Regions from separate parts of the Homo sapiens genome. Here regions 1, 2, 3, 4, 5 and 6 are each linked to region 7. Evidence: promoter capture Hi-C in human tissues and cell types (Jung and others, 2019). All regions are on one chromosome and are shown on one strand. The core of a region is centred on a gene start or on the middle of the fragment in contact, and the rest is flanking DNA. Distances in the headings are between cores, read along the strand shown.

Evidence for each region. Contacts are between HindIII fragments. The study calls those that stand out against the background at their distance.
Region 1: a contact is called between a fragment that was not itself captured here and the fragment with the promoter of HUNK in region 7, in 2 of the 25 tissues and cell types used here (dorsolateral prefrontal cortex and thymus).
Region 2: a fragment that was not itself captured here is called in contact with the fragment with the promoter of HUNK in region 7 in 1 of the 25 tissues and cell types used here (lymphoblastoid cells).
Region 3: a contact is called between a fragment that was not itself captured here and the fragment with the promoter of HUNK in region 7, in 4 of the 25 tissues and cell types used here (IMR-90 fibroblasts, dorsolateral prefrontal cortex, lymphoblastoid cells and 1 more).
Region 4: a contact is called between a fragment that was not itself captured here and the fragment with the promoter of HUNK in region 7, in 4 of the 25 tissues and cell types used here (aorta, dorsolateral prefrontal cortex, lymphoblastoid cells and 1 more).
Region 5: a fragment that was not itself captured here is called in contact with the fragment with the promoter of HUNK in region 7 in 6 of the 25 tissues and cell types used here (H1 embryonic stem cells, heart right ventricle, liver and 3 more).
Region 6: a fragment that was not itself captured here is called in contact with the fragment with the promoter of HUNK in region 7 in 1 of the 25 tissues and cell types used here (lymphoblastoid cells).

Annotation. Positions count from the first base shown.
Region 1 is chr21:32,045,832-32,048,630 of GRCh38, reverse strand. No RefSeq gene overlaps it. Among named protein-coding and RNA genes, the nearest start is that of LINC00159, 39 kb to the left of the region's middle. The HindIII fragment of the contact is 6,648 bases long and covers 1-2,799 here.
Region 2 is chr21:31,651,013-31,653,765 of GRCh38, reverse strand. It overlaps SOD1-DT (SOD1 divergent transcript), which reads left to right. Exons shown (of 3, transcript NR_187558.1): 3 at 1-179. Among named protein-coding and RNA genes, the nearest start is that of SOD1, 7.3 kb to the left of the region's middle. The HindIII fragment of the contact is 3,434 bases long and covers 1-2,753 here.
Region 3 is chr21:32,065,992-32,068,691 of GRCh38, reverse strand. No RefSeq gene overlaps it. Among named protein-coding and RNA genes, the nearest start is that of LINC00159, 19 kb to the left of the region's middle. The HindIII fragment of the contact is 3,631 bases long and covers 1-2,700 here.
Region 4 is chr21:32,084,484-32,087,183 of GRCh38, reverse strand. It overlaps LINC00159 (long intergenic non-protein coding RNA 159), which reads left to right and starts at 889. Exons shown (of 2, transcript NR_038033.1): 1 at 889-980. The HindIII fragment of the contact is 3,140 bases long and covers 1-2,700 here.
Region 5 is chr21:31,739,238-31,741,965 of GRCh38, reverse strand. The region is part of intron 1 of LOC124905008 (a long non-coding RNA gene); the gene reads right to left. Among named protein-coding and RNA genes, the nearest start is that of SCAF4, 8.5 kb to the right of the region's middle. The HindIII fragment of the contact is 5,403 bases long and covers 1-2,728 here.
Region 6 is chr21:31,625,916-31,628,639 of GRCh38, reverse strand. It overlaps the pseudogene FBXW11P1. Among named protein-coding and RNA genes, the nearest start is that of SOD1, 32 kb to the left of the region's middle. The HindIII fragment of the contact is 6,770 bases long and covers 1-2,724 here.
Region 7 is chr21:31,871,747-31,874,446 of GRCh38, reverse strand. HUNK (hormonally up-regulated Neu-associated kinase) reads right to left here and starts at 1,427. Exons shown (of 11, transcript NM_014586.2): 1 at 512-1,427. The coding sequence starts at 772. RefSeq lists silencers at 154-333, 1,260-1,309. The HindIII fragment of the contact is 17,092 bases long and covers 1-2,700 here.

The DNA.
Region 1 (2,799 bases), core at 69-2,568, 170 kb before region 7:
ACCAGTAGTCAATAGGAAGACAAGACCAGAGAGGGTGGGGACCAGTTTTATCCATCCCTCAAAAGCTCCCCGCTGGGCTCAGATGACACCACTTCCTCCCTCCTTCCTTGGGGCCTAGGTGGGGGAGGGCAGTCATCCCCCTGTTGCTGGCGTCTGAGAGCCTCACCATCCCCTGTCAGTTCCTTATCCCCACCCACTGCTTGGAAAACCGCTTTCATCAACATCTCTTCATCTGCACGGTTTAGGATGAACTGCTTCTTGTTTGAATCTTGTGTGATACATTAGCAGCCCTCCTTTTGTGTGTTTATGATTTAGATCTCTTTTCTGTATGTACAAATTTGGTGTGCACTCAATTTTTTCTTTCTTCACTTATTTATTTTAAAAATGTTTTTAAAATCGTGGCTCTTTTTATTTTTACATTTTCCTCAAGTACTGACATAACAATTGAAAGTACCTTACATCTGCATTGTGGGGTGTGTGTGTCTGTGTGTGTGTGTGTGTGTGTGTCTGTGTGTACAGGTGCATGTGACATTAAGGGAAAACTTGTTTTTTTAATTTTACTTTAAGTTCTGGGATACATGTGCAGAACGTGCAGGTTTGTTACACAGGTATACATGTGCCATGGTGGTTTGCTGCACCTATCAACTCATCATCTAGGCTTTAAGCCCCGCATGCAAGGGAAAACTTTTGACTGTATAAAATTTAGAAATGTTTAAACAACAAACAGTATCTTAAACAAAACAATAAAGTCTTTAAAAATTACAAAATAAGAAAAAAAGTGGTTGCAAAATATCGACTCCCCTAAATCAATCTATGAATTTAGGGCTAATCTAATAACAACATTATGATGTTTGAGTGGGGAATTGTTGTTGTTAAGGGGTGTTTCCCCTCAACTTTTTAAAACCAATCAAAATGTATTGTGGTGCCGGGCACGGTGGCTCATGCCTGTAATCCCAGCACTTTGGGAGGCCGAGGAGGGTGGATCACGAGGTCGGGAGATTGAGACCATCCTGGCTAACATGGTGAAACCCCGTCTCTACTAAAAAAATACAAAAAATTAGCCAGGCATGGTGGCGGGCGCCTGTAGTCGCAGCTACTTGGGAGGCTGAGGCAGGAGAATGGCATGAACCCGGGAGGCGGAGCTTGCAGTGAGCAGAGATCGCGCCACTGCACTCCAGCCTGGACAACAGAGCAAGACTCTGCCTCAAAAAAAAAAAGTGTATTGTAGTAAATATGAAATTACTTGAACAAATGTCTAATAGCTGTCCCTAGCGTACAGAAATGGTCTTTGTTGTTCTAAACATTGTTATTCAATGATAGTTTAAGTAACAGCGGACCCTCCATTTAAATTAAAATACAATATTTTGCTGGGCATGATGGCTCATGCCTGTAATCTCAGCACTTTGGGAGGCCAACGTGGGTGGATTGCTTGAGGTCAGGAGTTTGATACCAGCCTGGGAAACATGGCAAATCTCCATCTTTACTAAAAATACAAAAATAAGCTGGGCGCAGTGGTACACACCTGTAGTCCTAGTTACTCAGGAGGCTGAGGCCCGAGAATCTCTGGAACCCAGAAAGTGGAGGTTGCAGTGAGCCGAGATTGTGCCCCTGCCCTCCAGCCTAGGCAACAGAAAGAGACTCTCTCAAAAACAAAACAAAACAAAACAAGATTTCTATGGCCTAACTGTAGAGAGTTCAACAACATGAAAAATAATGTATTCATAAGTGTTATATAAAATAAACCTTTATTTGAAAAATACTATCTTAAAGGCCGGGCACAGTGCTCACGCCTGTAATCCCAGCACTTTGGGAGGCCAAGGCAGGTGGATCACATGAGGTCAGGAGTTCAAGACCAGCCTGACCAACATGGAGAAACCCCATCTCTACTAAAAATACACAAAATCAGCCGGGCATGGTGGTGCATACCTGTAATCCCAGCTACTCAGGATGCTGAGGCAGGAGAATTGCTTGAACCCGGGAGGCGAGGTTGCAGTGAGCCAAGATCGTGCCATTGCACTCCAGCCTGGGCAACAAGAGAGAAACTCCATCTCAAAAAAAAAAAAAAACTGTCTTCAAATTATAATGCTATGTCTACTTGAATAAGAGCAATGGTAGCATCCATTAAATAAGAGCAGCTGAACTAAAAAGAAATACATCAAAATCACTTTAAAGAGACAGCACAGGCGGATGTCCTGCTGTGATTGTGGGTGTTCAGGGCCCCCCTGCTGTGAGAACTGAGTGAAATCTGAAGGTGACCCAGATCCTTGAGCCTCATAGCACCGTCCTCCTCCTTCCTGGAGAACGTGATGATTCAGGGGACCCCCTGGTAGTTCTGGGCCTCTGTGTGTTGTGCTTGGAACAGCAGGAATAAAAAGGCCACTTGGGAAAGGTGAGACTTGAACTTGACGTTAGCCAGGATTTTCCTGCTGCGATCATTTTTTTTTTTCTTAGCACGTTGAGTTTTCTCTCAGTCAACAGAACTGCCATCCAATTTTTCCCGTACTGTTTCCTCATAGAAGAGAATCTCCTTTTGATAGAAGAAAGTGGTTCTTCCTTATTCTTTGTCCATGTCTTGGGTCATCTTCTTGTAGAGGTTGTGAATCTGATGTATGTAATTCACATTTCTACACACGCTGGGAAGTTTCTTCTTAATTTCCAAGCAGTGTATTTCCTCCTCAGCCATTTTCTCTCTGCCATTGCATTACATGTTCCGGATGTAATTTAGGCAGTATTTGAAGCTTCAGCTAAAGCTTCTATATCTCATTTTCAAGCTGTGAATTTTCACACTGCCAAAATGCT
Region 2 (2,753 bases), core at 24-2,523, 220 kb after region 7:
ACTAGGTGGGTAGGAGTTGGGTGAGACTTAAACTTGAAATGATAATGCCTAAAGTTTGTGCGGTTTAAACCCCAGGGGTCCCCATCACCTGGGCCATATTGGCTTCAAATTGGCTATATTTGAAGAATTGTCTTGGGCCACACATAAAATACGTTAACACTAATGATAGCTGGTGAGCTAAAAAAAAAAAAAAAAAAAAAAAAATCGCAAAGGCAATCTCACATTTTAAGAAAGTTTATGAATTTGCATTGGGCTGCACCCAAAGCCTTCCTGGGCCACAGGCACCATAGGCTGCGGGTTGGACAAGCTTGGTTTATAGGCCTCATATGTGGTGGGGCTGCTGTTTTAAAAGTCTCATCAGTGCAGATTTTACTTATTGCATGAAGATTGGTATTTAAGTTGAGATGAAGGGTAGTATATTTTGTTTGAGATCATTACACTTGTGAAGAGTTAATTGAGTTGCATGTTTTTCACGTATTATTTAGTCATACCTTTATCATGACAGGATGATTCTGCTTCACAACTTCTTTCTGTTTTTAAGGAAAGGGGCTGGGCATGGTGGTTCAACCCTATAATCCCAGCACTTTTGGAGGCGGAGACGGGCAGATCACTTCAGCCCAGGAGTTTGAGACCAGCCTGGGCAACATGGTGAAACCCCGACTCTACAAAAAATACAAAAACTAGCTGGGCATGGTGGCACACACCTATAGTCTCAGCTACCCAGGAGACTGAGGTGGCAGAATTGCTTGAACTCAGGTGGCAGAGGTTGCAGTGAGCAGAGATCGCACCTCTGCACTCCAGCCTGGGCAACAGAGTGAGACCCTGCCTAAAAAAAAAAAAAAAAAAAAAGAGGCATTGGTTTATTGTTATTGTTCTTTTAAAAAAAATTGCTGCTCCACAACCTGGGAGGTTTGGTTTGTTTTTTTTTTTTAACAGTTTTATTAAGATACAATTTACATACCATACAATTCACCCTTTGTAAGCATGCACTTTAATGATTTTTAAAGTAAATTTATGTAGTTGACAGCTACCAGCACAATGCAGTTTTAAAACATTTCCATCAGCCCAATTTACCTCATGGTAGTTTTTGCTTAATCCCTTCTCCCACCCCAAGCTGCAGGCAACCACTGACCTGCTTTCTGTCAATAAATTTGCCCTTTCTGGACATTTCATGTAAATAGTATCATACAATACACTGTCTTTTGCATCTGGCCTATTGTACTTAGCATGATGTTTTAGAGCTCAGTTCACGTTATAGCACTTATCTGTAATTTGTGCCTTTCTATATGTGAATACTATTCTGTTACATGGATAGACTGTATCTGAGATCGTTTTTCCGCTCATAAGCTGAGGGACATTTGGATGTATTATGGGTTGAATTGTGCCCCATCCCCAAATACATATGTTAAAGTTTTATTTTTTTGGACGGAGTCTCGCTCTGTCACCCAGGCTGGAGTGCAGTGGCGCGATCTCGGCTCACTGCAAGCTCTGCCTCCCAGGTTCATGCCATTCTCCTGCCTCAGCCTCCCAAGTAGCTGGGATGCCCGCCACCACGCCCGGCTAATTTTTTGTATTTTTAATAGAGACTGGGTTTCACCATGTTAGCCAGGATGGTCTCGATCTCCTGACCTTGTGATCCGCCTGCCTCGGCCTTCCAAACTGCTGGGATTACAGGCATGAGCCACCACGCCCAGCCCTGAAGTTTTAACCCCCAATAACTTGGAAGGTGACCATGTTTGGAAATGGGGTTTTGCAGATGTAATTAGTTAAGATAAGGTCATACTGGAGTAGGATGAACCCCTAAGTCCAGCATGACTGGTGTCCTTACAAAAGAGGAAATTTGGACATAAGCACACAGGGAGAACACCCCCATGTGAATATAAAGGCAGAGATAGGTGTGGTGCTTCTACAAGCCAAAGAACACCAGATATTGTCAGCAAACCCCAAAAAGCTAGGGGAGAGGCATGGAGCAGATTCTTCACAGCCTCAGAAGGAACCAGCCTTGCTGATACCTTCATCTCTCCTAGCCTCTGGAACTATGAGACAATGTCTGTTATATAAGCCACTCAGTTTGTGGTAGTTGTTTTTCTGGTTTGTTTGTTTTTCTGAGACAGAGTCTCTCTCTGTCAGCCAGGCTGGAGTGCAATGGCACGATCTCGGCTCACTGCAACCTCCACCTCCCGAGTTCAAGCAATTCTCCTGCCTTAGCCTCCCAAGTAGCTGGGATTACAGGTACCTGCCACTACACCCGGCTCATTTTTTGTGTTTTCAGTAGAGACAGGGTTTTGCCATCATGGCCAGGCTGGTCTCAATCTCCTGACCTCAGGTGATCCACCTCCTCGGCTTCCCAAAGTGCTGAGATTACAGGTATGAGCCACCGCATCCAGCCGTGTGCATGGTAGTTTGTTACAACAGCCTTAGACAGGCATACAGGAGTATTTCCAGTTCTTGAATATTATGAATAATGCTGCTGTAAACACTGGCATTCATGCCTCTGAACACATATGGTTTTATTTCTCTTTGGTTTTTTAACTTTTGTTTAACTTTTTTAAAAAACTGCCAATTAGCTTTTCCAAGTGTCTACATCACTTTACATTTCCATCAGCAACGTATGATGGTTCCATTTTCTCCCCATCCTCACCAACACTTGGTATTGTTTTTCTTTTTTGATTACAGCCATTCTAATGAACGTATAGTAGTATTTCATTGTAACCGTAATTTGCATTTTTCTAATGACTAATGATGTTGAGCAC
Region 3 (2,700 bases), core at 146-2,645, 190 kb before region 7:
ATTCTTGCTATTACATATTAAATGTGAATAGGTGTCTTTTGTTATGTGGGCAAGATCCACACTTTCATTGGATTGTCAAGGAGGTCACTGACTCCCAAATAGGTTGAAAACCTTATTGAGTTTGGGAAGATAATACCCTATCATTTACAGGGCAGCAAGGTGGCTGACCCATGGTCATAGGAATTTTATAGATTAACAATATTTGGTTTAAGCTGATGACTTCCAAGTGAGCACTAATTAGCCCAGTAGGTTGAAAAGCCATTGCTGATGTCCATTTTTCAAGTGGACAGGCTTTTCTGTCTGAGACAGGAGGCTCCCAGGCTGGCCTGGCAGAGGGCTCTGCAGCCACTCAGCCTGAGTTCAGATCCCAATTCTTATTAGCTGTGTGACCAGGGTGCCTTCCCAGCCCTCTCTGCACCAGTTTCTTCATCTGTAAAATGGGAACAATGATAGTAGCACCTACCTTGCAGGTATTAACTCTAAGTGAGTTAACACATATAAAGTGAGTTGAGCAGTACTTGGCACAGAGTGGGAGTTTTGACTAAGTTTGGGGGTACATAGGGGTAGTCCCAGGAATTTGTATTTTAACAGGCTCTCCTGGTGATTCCATCTGCAGGTGTTATTTAACCACACTGTGTCAAGACCCAGCGAAACTGAACTTGCCTATTCACAGTGCAGGGCCCTGCTTTGTAAGTTACCACTCACCATGCAAAGAAATACCTGGTGAGCTCCTGATCCCTGATGCTGGTGCCCTCTGGATAGCCAGCTGGGCACGGCCAGCCGTGAGCAGGAGGGAATGATGTCCTGGCCCTGACTGGCCCTCTTGGCAGGGCTTCTTCAATGGTAGAATGCAATCCAAATGTTTCCTGGCAACATGGTGGCAACAGAGGTGATGGGCGGAGCATCTTGGCCAGGATACAGAGCCGCCTGCAGGTACAGCTCCCACCCGCCGTCCTGCCGCAGGAACAGGTGTCTCCAGGTGCCTCCTCTCTCCCTCTGCCCCCCAGCTCTCCTCCCTGATCCTGATTTCTCTCCCTTCAACTTTTTACTGAGGTTTTCCCCTCTCTGCCCAAATTACAGTGGCTCCAGGGAACATTTAGATTCCAAATTGTTCCCAGAAGCTTGATGGTCTCTCCGTTCTGGTTTATGGCAGCCTGTAGGTAGGTGATGCTTCCCAACACCACAAGTTGGCCAGAGCCGGGCCCTGACAAAAAGATAATCTGCAGAAGAGCCCACAGCAAACAGCCAGGTCCACAGGGAGCAGCATCTGTTCACGGCGGGCAAGAGTGTGGCCTCACGTCTGGGAAAGGTGGAAGGTTGAGAACTAAGACCAAGACAGGCCCCGACTGGAAGAACAGAGGCAAGTAGGCAGGAAGAAGGAGGAGAGAATCCTTGTCAGAGGAATCAGGGTCAACAATCCATCTGGAGGGACTTAATTGTCCCCAGCCCTCAGCTCAGCATTGCTCGTGAAAATGGAGGCTGCCCCTCAAGTGGACATTGAGTGGCTGCAACTGCTAGAAGGAGGTAGCATACAGGAGTCAGGACCCCATTAGGACATAGCCCACGGACAGCTGGGGTTGTTTTGTGTTTTTCCGGTTTGTCTGGATTTTTTTTTTTTTTGAGACAGTCTTGCTTCATCACCCAGGCTGGAGTGCAGTGGCACGATCTCAGCTGACTGCAACCTCTGCCTCCTGAGTTCAAGCAATTCTCACGCCTCAGCCTCCCAAGTAGCTGGAATTACAGGCACCCACCACCATGCCCAGCTAATTTCTGTATTTTTAGTAGAGACAGGATTTTGACTTGTTGGTCAGGCTGGTCTCAAACTCCTGGCCTCACGTGATCCGCCTGCCTCAGCCTCCCAAAGTGCTGGGATTACAGGTGTGAGCCACCACTCCTGGCCAAGGGGAGCTGTTTCACAAGCAAGTCACAAATTCCAGGAATGGCAACTACCACCATTAAATTTGGAGGCACTTAGTAGGTGTCAGACATACTGTTAGACCCTCTATACCAACCCCATAAACTAAGCTTCAATGTCAGAAGCAGAAGAGCTCTAATAGTTAGGAGTGAGGACTCTGGAGCCAAAAAGTCTGGTTCAAAACCCAGCTCTGCCACTTGCTAGCTATGTGACTTTGGGCTCATTTCTTAATTTCTCTGATCCTCAATTGCCCATCTGTAAAATGGGTATGACAAAAGGAGCTCCTGCCTCAGCTGTTGTGAAAGTAAATGAGATGATTCATATAAAGCGCCAAGCATAGTACCCAGCACCTAGGAAGGAAACAGAACAATGCTGCTGTCACAGGGTCATTGTTGCTATTATTATTCCTTTTGCTTGGGTTCTCAAGGCTGAGCTCACATGGCCCTGTCAGGGGAGGAAGAGGAGCAGAGAGGTAGGCAAATTGGTGCTCCTTGAACCCATGGGATCTGAGCCCCCAGAAAAGAAACTGCTTTAAACAATATCTTATGTCTGTTTCCCTCTGCCCATACTTTAGAGACGTCAGGAACACACTGCAAACTGCCTTTCACATTTCACACCTCCAGGCAATAGTAACAGCCAGACTTTCCTTGAATATTCTTCCATGAAGACTGCAGAAGACAAGGGTCTTTCTTTGGAAAATAACAATAATACTTCACTAGAATGTCAATAATAATTAAGCTGGGGGTGTATAGGGAAGAAATAAAAGCAACATCCCTCAAGGGTTA
Region 4 (2,700 bases), core at 112-2,611, 210 kb before region 7:
CCTTCATGAGAGATGAGAATTACTATTTATACAAATTTACTAAACACAATCTCAGATGCCTTGGAAGGAAAATATTTGATCTGATTAAGAATGGAAACTATTTTTCACATTATTAAAGCACTTGAGTAGCACTGATTGGATTAAAATAATGTGAACTGGCACATGAAAATTGTCTACTTACTATAATCGACCCATAAGACTTCTACTTGGTTGCTTGTTTTTTAAAAATCTATGTAAATATTTGGAAGTAATTTTATTGTGTTTCTTCCACTATATTCTGCAATTCTAACTTTCATTAACTCATATTGAGCTCTTTACCAATTGATCCAAATTACTGTGTTTTTATTGCCCCAGTCACCAGCACTTCCAGAGGTCAGGTTGATACTGTGTGGTTCAAAGTCCCCACCATAAATCACATTGATAACATAGACCCTTTGGGCTATCCCAAGCCCCCCATGTAAACAAAGGCATTCTTTTTTTTTTTTTTTTTTGAGACGGAGTCTCGCTCTACTGTATAGGCTGAAGTGCAGTGGCGTGATCTCAGCTCACTGCAAGCTCCGCCTCCTGGGTTCACACCATTCTCCTGCCTCAGAAACATTTCAAGGGCTTAGAAGTATTCAAGTATTCAAGTATTAATTGGATCACTATTGAAAAAGCAGAATAGGAAATCTAATTTTCTCTCTTGTGTTTGATGGATTTGTCTTATGAAAGCTTCAGAACTGTCCTTCCCAGTTCTCATGTTATTTCTTTCTGTGAGATTCCGGGGCCTCCTGCTTTTCTGCGTTTACGTCAAGACCTCTACTTGTCATTCTGTAATAAATAGAGAATTTCCTGGGCTCTTTTAACTGGATCTCCTTGTGTCTGTATATTGGAATTTATTTTCAGCAGACTGATATCATATGGAAATGCCAGCTCAGAAGATGTGGTGAGCTTTGATAATTCAGGAATTGACTGACAGAAGGAGGACCTCATTTGGGCAGGTATGAACCTGGGGTATGTGCCTGATAAGAGAAGGTAATGATGCAGAAAAGGGAGATATCTCTAGAAGAGGATAAACAGCAGGTGGGAGGGTTTAACCTGGTTTGGGGATGAGGTAGGAAAGGCTCCAAAGGGAAACTAGGAGGTCAGACTGTTCTAAGAGTGCAGTGGCTGAGAAGAGACCGATTGACCAGAAAAGAAGGAAAAACAGAATGTCCCCAGGTTCTAGGATGAAGATTGCTAATCGCTTTTCATGGGAGTTCTGGCCAGGTGAGTTGATGCTGGGATTCTACTTTGAAGGTTGCAAAGTTCGGGTGTCTACAAGATCCTCCTCACTTCTGACACCAACAACAAATTGAAGATCCCCAGGACCATCTCAGATTCAATAATTTGCTAGCAAGATGCACAGAACTCAGAAAAGTTATTATATTCATGGTTATGCTTTATTACCATGAAAGGATACAGATTAAAATCCTCCAAGGGAAGAGGCATATAGGTCAGATTTTAGAAGTCATTAAACATGAGTCGTGCAGAGAGCACCTCTCAGACACAACATTTGACATCATGCACAGAGTATTATTAACCAGGAAAAACTCACCAGAGTCTTGGTGTGCACAGTTTTTATTGGGACTTGTTCACGTAGACATGATTGACCATCTGCTGGGCTGACCTTGGTCACCAGCACTTCCAGAGGTCAGGTTGATACTGTGTGGTTCAAAGTCCCCACCATAAATCACATTGATAACATAGACCCTTTGGGCTATCCCAAGCCCCCCATATAAACAAAGGCATTCTCTTTTTTTTTTTTTTTTTTTGAGACGGAGTCTCACTCTACCGTATAGGCTGAAGTGCAGTGGCGTGATCTCAGCTCACTGCAAGCTCCGTCTCCTGGGTTCACAACATTCTCCTGCCTCAGAAACATTTCAAGGGCTTAGAAGTTACCTCTCATGTGCTGAGGGCAAAAGTCAAACCTCTTTTGGACAAGGTGAATTATTTACTGCACAGGAGTCCTTCTTGATCAGGGAGATCTATTCCCAGGGCAGATCAGAGGATCAAATCTGTGGCAGAATATCAGACCAAAATGAAACTGTCCTTGTATCCAAGGGGCAATCTCAGGATCATTACAGGGGATAAAGGCTCAGTCTGGTCAGGGAAGATGGGCAGTAATGAGAAAGGAGCTTCTCATTACTGAGATACCAGGAGCTTGTTCTGATTTGGGTGCTTATCCTATGATGCTTGGATGGGTCCTTCTGCTTAAAATATCCAGGACTGGGAAGACTGAAAACACTTTTTTAAAAAATCCAAGCAGATAGATGCTTGAATCACATTGGTTGTGATTACTAATCGAGCACCTGAAAATTTCTAAGCTATATATAGCTTGACCTGGTCATACAGAAGATAGTTATACCTAGAATGACTGAACCCATAATATGCCGACGTCCTCCCCAAGTGAGGATGGTCTTGGGGACACGTGGACTTTGGACAGCCACAGAGGCCTGGGTGTGGGAGTAGGCTGTAGGCTCCCAACTGCATCCAAGAAGACAAGCTTCTCTTCTCCTTGGGGTGGGAAGAAGGAGTGACCACAGGTGAGCTCAAGGTTCCTCAAGATTATTCGTAAACTCGTGAATAGCAAGGTCTGCTGTCATGCCTGCCTTGCCAGAAGAGTCCAATCCAGAACCAAGCTCTTCCTCCATTCCTCAGGGTAGGCCATATTGGATCAGG
Region 5 (2,728 bases), core at 218-2,717, 130 kb after region 7:
GAGACTCCATCTCAAAAACCAACCAAACAAAGAAAAAAATACACAAAGCTATTGAAAGGAGAAATAAATACATGCACAATCACATCAGGAGACATCAAATCTCCTCTCTAATTGACATAATAAGCAGGTAGAAAAAGAATAGAAATCTAGAAGACTTAAATAATACCATCAACCAACTTGATCCAAGAGACGTTAACAGAACCTAACAAGAGCGGAATATATATTATTATCCTACCTAACAAGAGCGGAATATATATTATTATCCTACCTAACAAGAGCGGAATATATATTATTATCCTACCTAACAAGAGCGGAATATATATTATTTTAAAGTGCACATGGAGCAATCATCTAGGTAGACCATGAATTGAGCCACAAAACAAGTCACAATAATTAAAAAAAAACTGAAATCATATGAAGTATGATATGTGACTATAATGGAATTCGATTAGTATAATCAATCACAGAAAGATAACAGAAATTCCCAACTATTTGGAATTTAAACAATACTTTCATAAATAAGAACTTAGGGAAAAGAAAAACTCCCAAGGGAAATTACAAAATATTTTGAACTAAATATTTAAGAAATACAACACTCCAAAATTTGAGAAGTAAATTTAAAGTTTTAAATGCTTACAATACAAAAAAAAAAAAAAAAAAAAAGGCTCGGCTGGGCGTGTTGGCTCACGCCTGAGGTCAAGAGTTCGAGACCAGTCTGGCCAACATGATGAAACCCCATCTCTACTAAACATAAAAAAAAATTAGCCGGGCATGGTGGTATGTGCCTGTAATCCCAGCTACTCAGGAAGCTGCAACAGGAGAATTGCTTGAACTAGGGAGGTGGAGGTTGCAGTGAGCCGAGATGGTGCCACTGCACTCCAGCCTGGGTGGCAGAGCGAGACTCCATCTCAAAAAAAAAAAAAAAGGCTAAAATCAATGATCTAGGCCTCCACTTTAAGAAACCGGAAAAGAGGCCGGACACAGTGGCTCACCCCTGTAATCCAAGCACTTAGGGAGGCCGAGGTGGGCAGATCACAAGGTCAGGAGTTCAAGACTAGCCTGGCCAAAATGGTGAAACCCCGTCTCTACTAAAAATACAAAAATTAGCCAGGCATGGTGGCGCACACCTGTAGTCCCAGCTACTCAGGAGGTTGAGGCAGGAAAATTGCTTGAACCCGGGAGGCAGAGGTTGTGGTGAGCCAAGATCACCCCACTGCACTCCAGCCTGGGCGACAGAGTGAGACATTGTCTCAAAAAAAAAAAAAAAAAAAAAACTTGAAAAGAGCAAATTAAATATAAAGGAAGCAGAAGAAAGGAAATAAGAGTGAAAATCAATGAACTAGAAAGTCCACAAACAATAGAGCTAATCAATGAAACCAAAAACTGTTTCTTTGGTTTTTGGAACAACAAAATAGATGAATCTCTAACCTCACTCAACAAGAAAAGAAAAAAAAGAAGATAGAAATTATCAATATCAGAAATGAAAGAGGAAATATCACTACAGACATTAAAAGGGTAATAACAGAATATCATGGAAAAACTTTATGCAATAAATTGACAACCTTTAAATGGACAATTTTCTGAAAAAAATACAAATGATCAAAACTCCCTCGAGAAACAGAAGACCTGAAGAACACTATATCAATTTTAAAAATTGATTAATATAAAACCCTCTCATAAGCAAAACTTTAGGCCCAAGTGGCTTCATTGGTGAATTCTAACAAATCTTAAGAAAGAAATAATATCAATTCCACACAGGCTATTTTAGAAAATAGAGAAGGAGGTCGGGTGTGGTGGTTCACACCTGTAATCCCAGCACTTTGGGAGGCCGAGGCAGGTGGATCACCTGAGGTCAGGAGTTCGAGACCAGCCTGGCCAACATGGTGAAACCCCATCTCTAGTAAAAATACAAAAATTAGCTGGGCATGGTGGCAGCTGCCTGTAATCCCAGCTACTTGAGAGGCTGAGGCAGGAGAATCGCTTGAACCCAGGAGGTTGCAGTGAGCCAAGATCGCACCACTGCCCTCCAGCCGGGTGACAAGAGCAAAACGCTATCTAAAAAAAAAAAAAAAAAAAATAGATAACAGGGAAGGAGAGAAGCACTTATCAAATAATTTGATGAGAGCAAGCTACCCCGACACCAAAACCATTACAAGAAAAGGAAAACAGAGACCACCAATACCACTCATGAATATAGAAGGAAATATTTTGACAGACAGAATCTTTGCAAATTGAACCCGGCAACATATAAAAAAAGTAATATCCCATAACCAAGTGGATTTTATTATAGGAATGCCAGGTTGGTTTCACATTCAAAAACCAATCACAGTAATTCATTAATATAATAGAATAGACAAAATCACATAATCATCCCAATGAATATAGCCATGGTATCTGACAACATTAACACCCATTTGTGATTTTTGTTGTTGTTGTTGTTGTTTTGTTTTTTGAGACGGAGTCTCACCCTGTTGCCCAGGCTGGAGTGCAATGGCGTGATCTCGGCTCCCTGCAACCTCTGCCTCCCAGGTTCAAGCAATTCTCCTGCCCCAGCCTCCCAAGTAGCTGGGATTACAGGTGCACAGGCGAGCGCCACCATGACCAGCTAATTTTTTGTATCTTTAATAGAGACGGGGGTTCACCACGTTGGCCAGGCTGGTCTCAAACTCCTGACCTCGTGATCCGCCCACCTCGGCCTCCCAGAGTGCTGGGATTACAGGCGTGAGCC
Region 6 (2,724 bases), core at 23-2,522, 250 kb after region 7:
CAAGATGAAGATAAGTCCCCAAAGAAAAATACTCCTTGGCAGATAAGTAATGGAACATCATTTGTGATCATCTCCAGAAAGAGGCCATCAGAAGGAAACTACCAAAAAGAAAAAGACTTGTATATTCAATATTTTAACCAGGGGTCTGAATCAGATCAGTTGGAATTTGTGGAACATCTTATTTCACGAATGTGTCATTATCACCATGGACGTATCAACTCTTACCTGAAGCCCATGTTGCAGCAGGACTTTATTACTGCTTTACCCGAGCAAGGCTTAGATCACATAGCAGAAAACATTCTTTTGTACCTGGTTACCAGGTCTCTGTGTGCAGCAGAGCTGGTATGTAAAGGATGGCAGGGATTGATCTCAGAATGAATGCTTTGGAAGAAGCTGATTGAACGAATGGTACACACTGATCCCCTATGGAAAGGACTTTCAGAAAGAAGAGGGTGGGATCAGTACCTGTTTCAAAACAGACCCATATCTAGCCCTCCAAATTCATTTTATAGGTCATTATACCCAAACATTATCCAGGATATAGAGACTATAGAATCCACCTAGCGGTGTGGCCGACACAGCTTGCAGAGGATTCAGTACCACTCTGAAAATAGTAAAGGTGTCTATGGTTTACAGTACGATGATGAAAAAATTATCAGTGGCCTACAAGATAATTAAGATTTGGGATAAAACCAGCCTGGAATGTTTGAAAGTGTTAATGGCCACACAGGTTCTGTCCTCTATCTGCAGTAGGATGAGCGTGTCATTGTAACTGGCTCTTCGGATTCTACGGTGAGAGTGTGGGAAGTGAACACGGGTGAAGTTCTTAACACATTAATCCACCACAATGAGGATGTACTGCACTTACGCTTCAGCAGTGGACTGATGGTGACCTGTTCCAAGGACCGCTCCATTGCTGTGTGGGACATGGCTTCTGCGACCGATATCACTTTACGTGGTGTCCTGGTTGTCCACTGAGCTGCTGTCAACGTAGTAGACTTTGACGAGAAATACATCGTGTCTGCCTCTGGTGACAGGACCATCAAAGTCTGGAGCATGAGCACCTGTGAATTTGCTCGTACTCTCAATGGGCACAAGCGAGTCTTGTCTCCAGTACAGGGATGGGCTGGTTGTTAGTGGATCATCAGATCATACCATTAGGCTCTTGGATATTGAATGTGGCTCCTGTTTAAGAGTCCTAGAGGGACATGAAGAATTGGTCCGATGCATCCAGTTTGATAACAAGAGGATGGTCAGCCGGGCCTATGATGGGAAAATTAAAGTTTAGGACTTGCAAGCCGCTCTTGACCCTCGAGCCCCAGCAAGCACATTGTGTTTGCGCACATTGGTGGAACATTCTGGACATGTGTTTTGCCTACAGTTTGATGAGTTTCAAATCGTCAGCAGCTCCCATGATGACACTATTTTGATTTGTGGTTTCTTAAATGTGCCTCCCAGTGCCCAGAATGAGACCCATTCCCCCTCCAGAACATACACTTACATCTCTAGATAACAGTCTGCACTTTCACCCGTTTCCGGGTTTTCTAGTCTTGAACTACTGGCTACGTGGCTACCAATGCCTAAGGGAGTTCGTTCACAGCTGAGTTATGAAGCTGGAATTGGTTCTAGACGCTGGGTAGATGCAAAGCAGCCTAACTCTTCAAGTCCCGACATTTCTCACCTCTGATTCCAGCTCTACTTTGAGAAGGAGACCTTAGCTTCACTGACTTGAAAGTAGCACAGAAGCCCATTTCCTTCCCTCATTAGTGAAAAAATCTAATGTTTCAAATGTAAACTGATCATAGAAAAGGAACATAGAATCTGTTTTACAGAAGTAAATTGACGCCAAGAGAAGTCTTGGCCTCTAATTTATATTGCTTTGCACTTTGGTTTGATACTAAGAAACAGCATTCTTCTTCAGTGAAATTTTGGGTGCCAAACACCTACTCAGAATGTCCACGGCTTTCATTTTCAAAAGTTAACATTCTCCTTTTGACCGTCCAAGTCATTATGAATTTTGACTTGCTGTATTAGGAACATGTTGGACAATGGAAAAATCTCTCTGGGTCGTTTTAGTAATATGTTTTGGATTATACTTCCTTTCTATACCAATTTCTTTTAATTTAAAGAACTGTAAGTCAGTTGGCCGAGCGCAGTGGCTCACCCCTGTAATCCCAGCACTTTGGAAAGCCAAGGCGGGCGGATCACGAGGTCAGGAGATTGAGACCATCCTGGCTAACACGGTGAAACCCCGTCTCTACTAAAAATACAAAAAATTAGCCGGGTGTGGTGGTGGGCGCCTCTAGTCCCAGCTACTTGGGAGGCTGAGGCAGGAGAATGGCCAGAACCCTGGAGGCGGAGGTTGCAGTGAGTCAAGATTGCACCACTGCACTCCAGCCTGGGCGACAGAGCGAGACTCCGTCTCAAAAAAAAAAAAAAAAAAAAAAGAACTATAAGTCAGTTATTATCTCCCAACATAGCTCTTTTATTTTATTTTTAATTTTTTTAAATTATATTTTAAGTTCTGGAATACATGTGCAGAACGTGCACTTTTGTTACATAGGTATACACGTGCCATGGGGGTTAGCCCTTTTATTAACTGTTCTCTGAACCGCAACCATCTCCTGATATTTGGTAGAGTAACACCTTTATATGTGTGCTTGCCTCCTAATTTAAAATACTGTATTCACATGTAGATATAATGTACATAACAGTTTAACTTCA
Region 7 (2,700 bases), core at 178-2,677:
GGAAGGAATGCAGGATCTCAGCCTTCTCCCACCTCCTCCGAGAGCCCAGGACGGGGATCAGACTCTAAGCTCCCCCCAGAGGCTGGCTGTTAGCTTTCCTGCCCCCCCCGCCCCCCGACATAAGAGCCCACCTCCTCTAGCCCTGGTTCCCGCCTCGCCACGGATCCGCCGCCCCTGCCGGCCTGAAGGGCAGAGGGGCCCCATCCCGCCCCCCGCGCTAGTGTCGCCAGGCGGCGCCCTTCCACGAGCAGAACGGCCGCGCGGGACGCTTCCCGGGGCAAGGCCGTCCCCTCCCAAGCCCCCAACCCCCGGGCAGCGGACCGCAGGCCGCCTTCGGGAAAGGCTGCGAGATGCTGAGCGCGCGTTTTAACCCAACAGGAAAGCCGGGCGGAGGGGGAAGGCGCTTGGCCCGGGACTGCACACTGGGACTCCCAGTGCAGTGCTCCCCGCGGGGTCCTGGCCGCCGACTCCCGCCCCTGTGCCCCAGCCCCACGGCGCCCGGGAGACTCACCTTCTCCCCGGTCAGCACGTGCAGCCCCTCGCGCACCTTGGCAAAGGAGCCCTCGCCCAGCTTCCTGCTGCCGATGAGGTAGTTGCCCACGCGCTTGTGGTGCTGGAAGTCGCGGAGCCGCTCGCGGGGCACGCCGCTCACCCAGGCAGGCAGGAAACTTCCCTCGCAGGCCGCCGCGGGCCTGGCCGCGTCCTCCGCGCCGCCGCCGCCCCCAGGCGCCGCCGGCTCCCCCAGGAGCCCGTCCCCCGCCGCCGCCGGCATCGCGCTCGCCGCGGCCCGCGCGGCTCCTGCTCGTCTCCCGCGCTCGCAGCTCCTCCTCCCCAGGCTCTTCGGCTTCCCCGGCTTCTCCCGCCGCCGCCCTGGGCCCAGCCCCGCCTGGGTCTCCGCACCCAGAGCCCGGGGCCGCCGCGATCACGCCCCCCGCGCCGCCCAGCGAGGCGCGTAGACAATAGCGGCTGCCCAGGGGACGCGGGACCGGGGACCCCGCCCCCAAAAGTTCTTCCTCTTAGGGTCGCCCGGGCCCCTTTCAGGACACCAGGATCCCGCCCCGGGTCCCGTCCAGGAAGCTAATGACAGTCGCCCTGCTCGGGCGCGCGGGGTGGGGCGCGGTCCGGCGGCGCCTGGGTCCCGGGGTCCGGGTGCCTGGGTCCGGGAGCCCGGGTGCCTCCGCAGCCTCCGCCTCGCCGCCGCCGTCTGGCCCGCACGGGCTTGGGTCGGGCTCCCGCGATCGCTCCTAGCCGTGCGCTGGGCGGCCGCTCCCGCCGGAGAGAAGCGCGCGGCGGGCTGCCGGCGCCCTCTGGAAGGCAGCAGAAGAAAGCCCCATTCAGTTTGAATTTGCAGAAATTTAATCCGCTCGCGGGCGGCGGGAACAGATGCGAGCTCCACTCCGCAGCCCGTGCACTTTCAAATCCCTAGTAGCCCCTCCTTCCCCGCGCGCCACAGTCAAACTCGACCCTCGCTGGAGAGGGGAGGGCCCGGGGAGGGGAGCGGCGGAGTGGACGGAGAAGCCACCTGAGCGCCAGACAGGGAGAACCTGCGCGGCCTCGGAGGCGCGCGCTCCCGGGCCGCCCAGGTCGGGCCGCCTCCGGCTGCGCCTCTTGCCCGGATTCTGGGCTTGGGTTTTCTGGACCTTTCGGCGGTGAAATCCCCCACTGGCCGCACCCACCCGGGGCGGGGGGAAGGGGGAAGGCTCTCGAACTCCGTGGACTGTGAGTCGGGTTGCGTGCCCGGCCCTGAGTCCGCCACACAGTAGGGCCCCCTGGACCGGGGGTGGAAGGATAGATGGATGGCTGGAAGAAAGGGTGGGGAGGCGGCCAGGCGTCTGCCCGGGCTCGCACGCAGCCTGGTTGGCTGTGTTGGAGGAGGCGCAGCCACAGCAGTAATAGTAGCAGCAGCAATGTAGGAACCAGGGCGTTTGCTGCCTCTGCTTGTAGCTTACACCTTCTTTGCCTTCCATTGAAATGATGCCTGTGATTGCAGGAGGTGGACCGGCGCTCGCCTCTCTTCGATGCTTTTGTTCTGCAAGCGCTGTGACTGTGCTCATCGCATAAACAATTGCAACTGCCCTGACGACACTGGACCCTCTCCCAGGATCCCCAACGTCTTCTCAAACCGAAAATGAAGAATCTTGTGAGGGAGAAGGAGGAGGGTAGGTAGGAGGAGGCATTTACAAAATGCTACCTGTTGAGGTGCCCGCATTTGATGGAAACTTCACCCCGATCATGCAACATCAGAGCTGAAAGGAAGGATTTGGTCCTAACAAAGTTCCTTTCATTGTTTATTCCTGAGTAAACAAGTATGACATCGACCCATAGCAATGCTTTGAGATTGGGAGTGGGGGGTGGGGGAACAACAGCTGTCATCAATCCAGTGTCTGGGGGTCTCGCTGACCCATCTGAAGAGGGACGCAGAGAAATGCCTGCTTTCAATACATCTAATTTTAAATACGCTACTATATTCATCCACCTACCTGTTACAAGTCACCAGCCTCAGTTATTATGACGGAACATACTGCGTTTTCTGTTGTTCTGTCTCATTGTTCCCGTTTACCAATATTAAAGATACAGCTTAAAATGTTTTTCTTGCTGTGCTGAAGGGACTTCTTTGCTCCCACCGGCCTTGACTATTTCAGTAACGTTCATTCAATCCTTTTAATGTCTCTAATTCAGTAATCAAATCTTAACAGGACA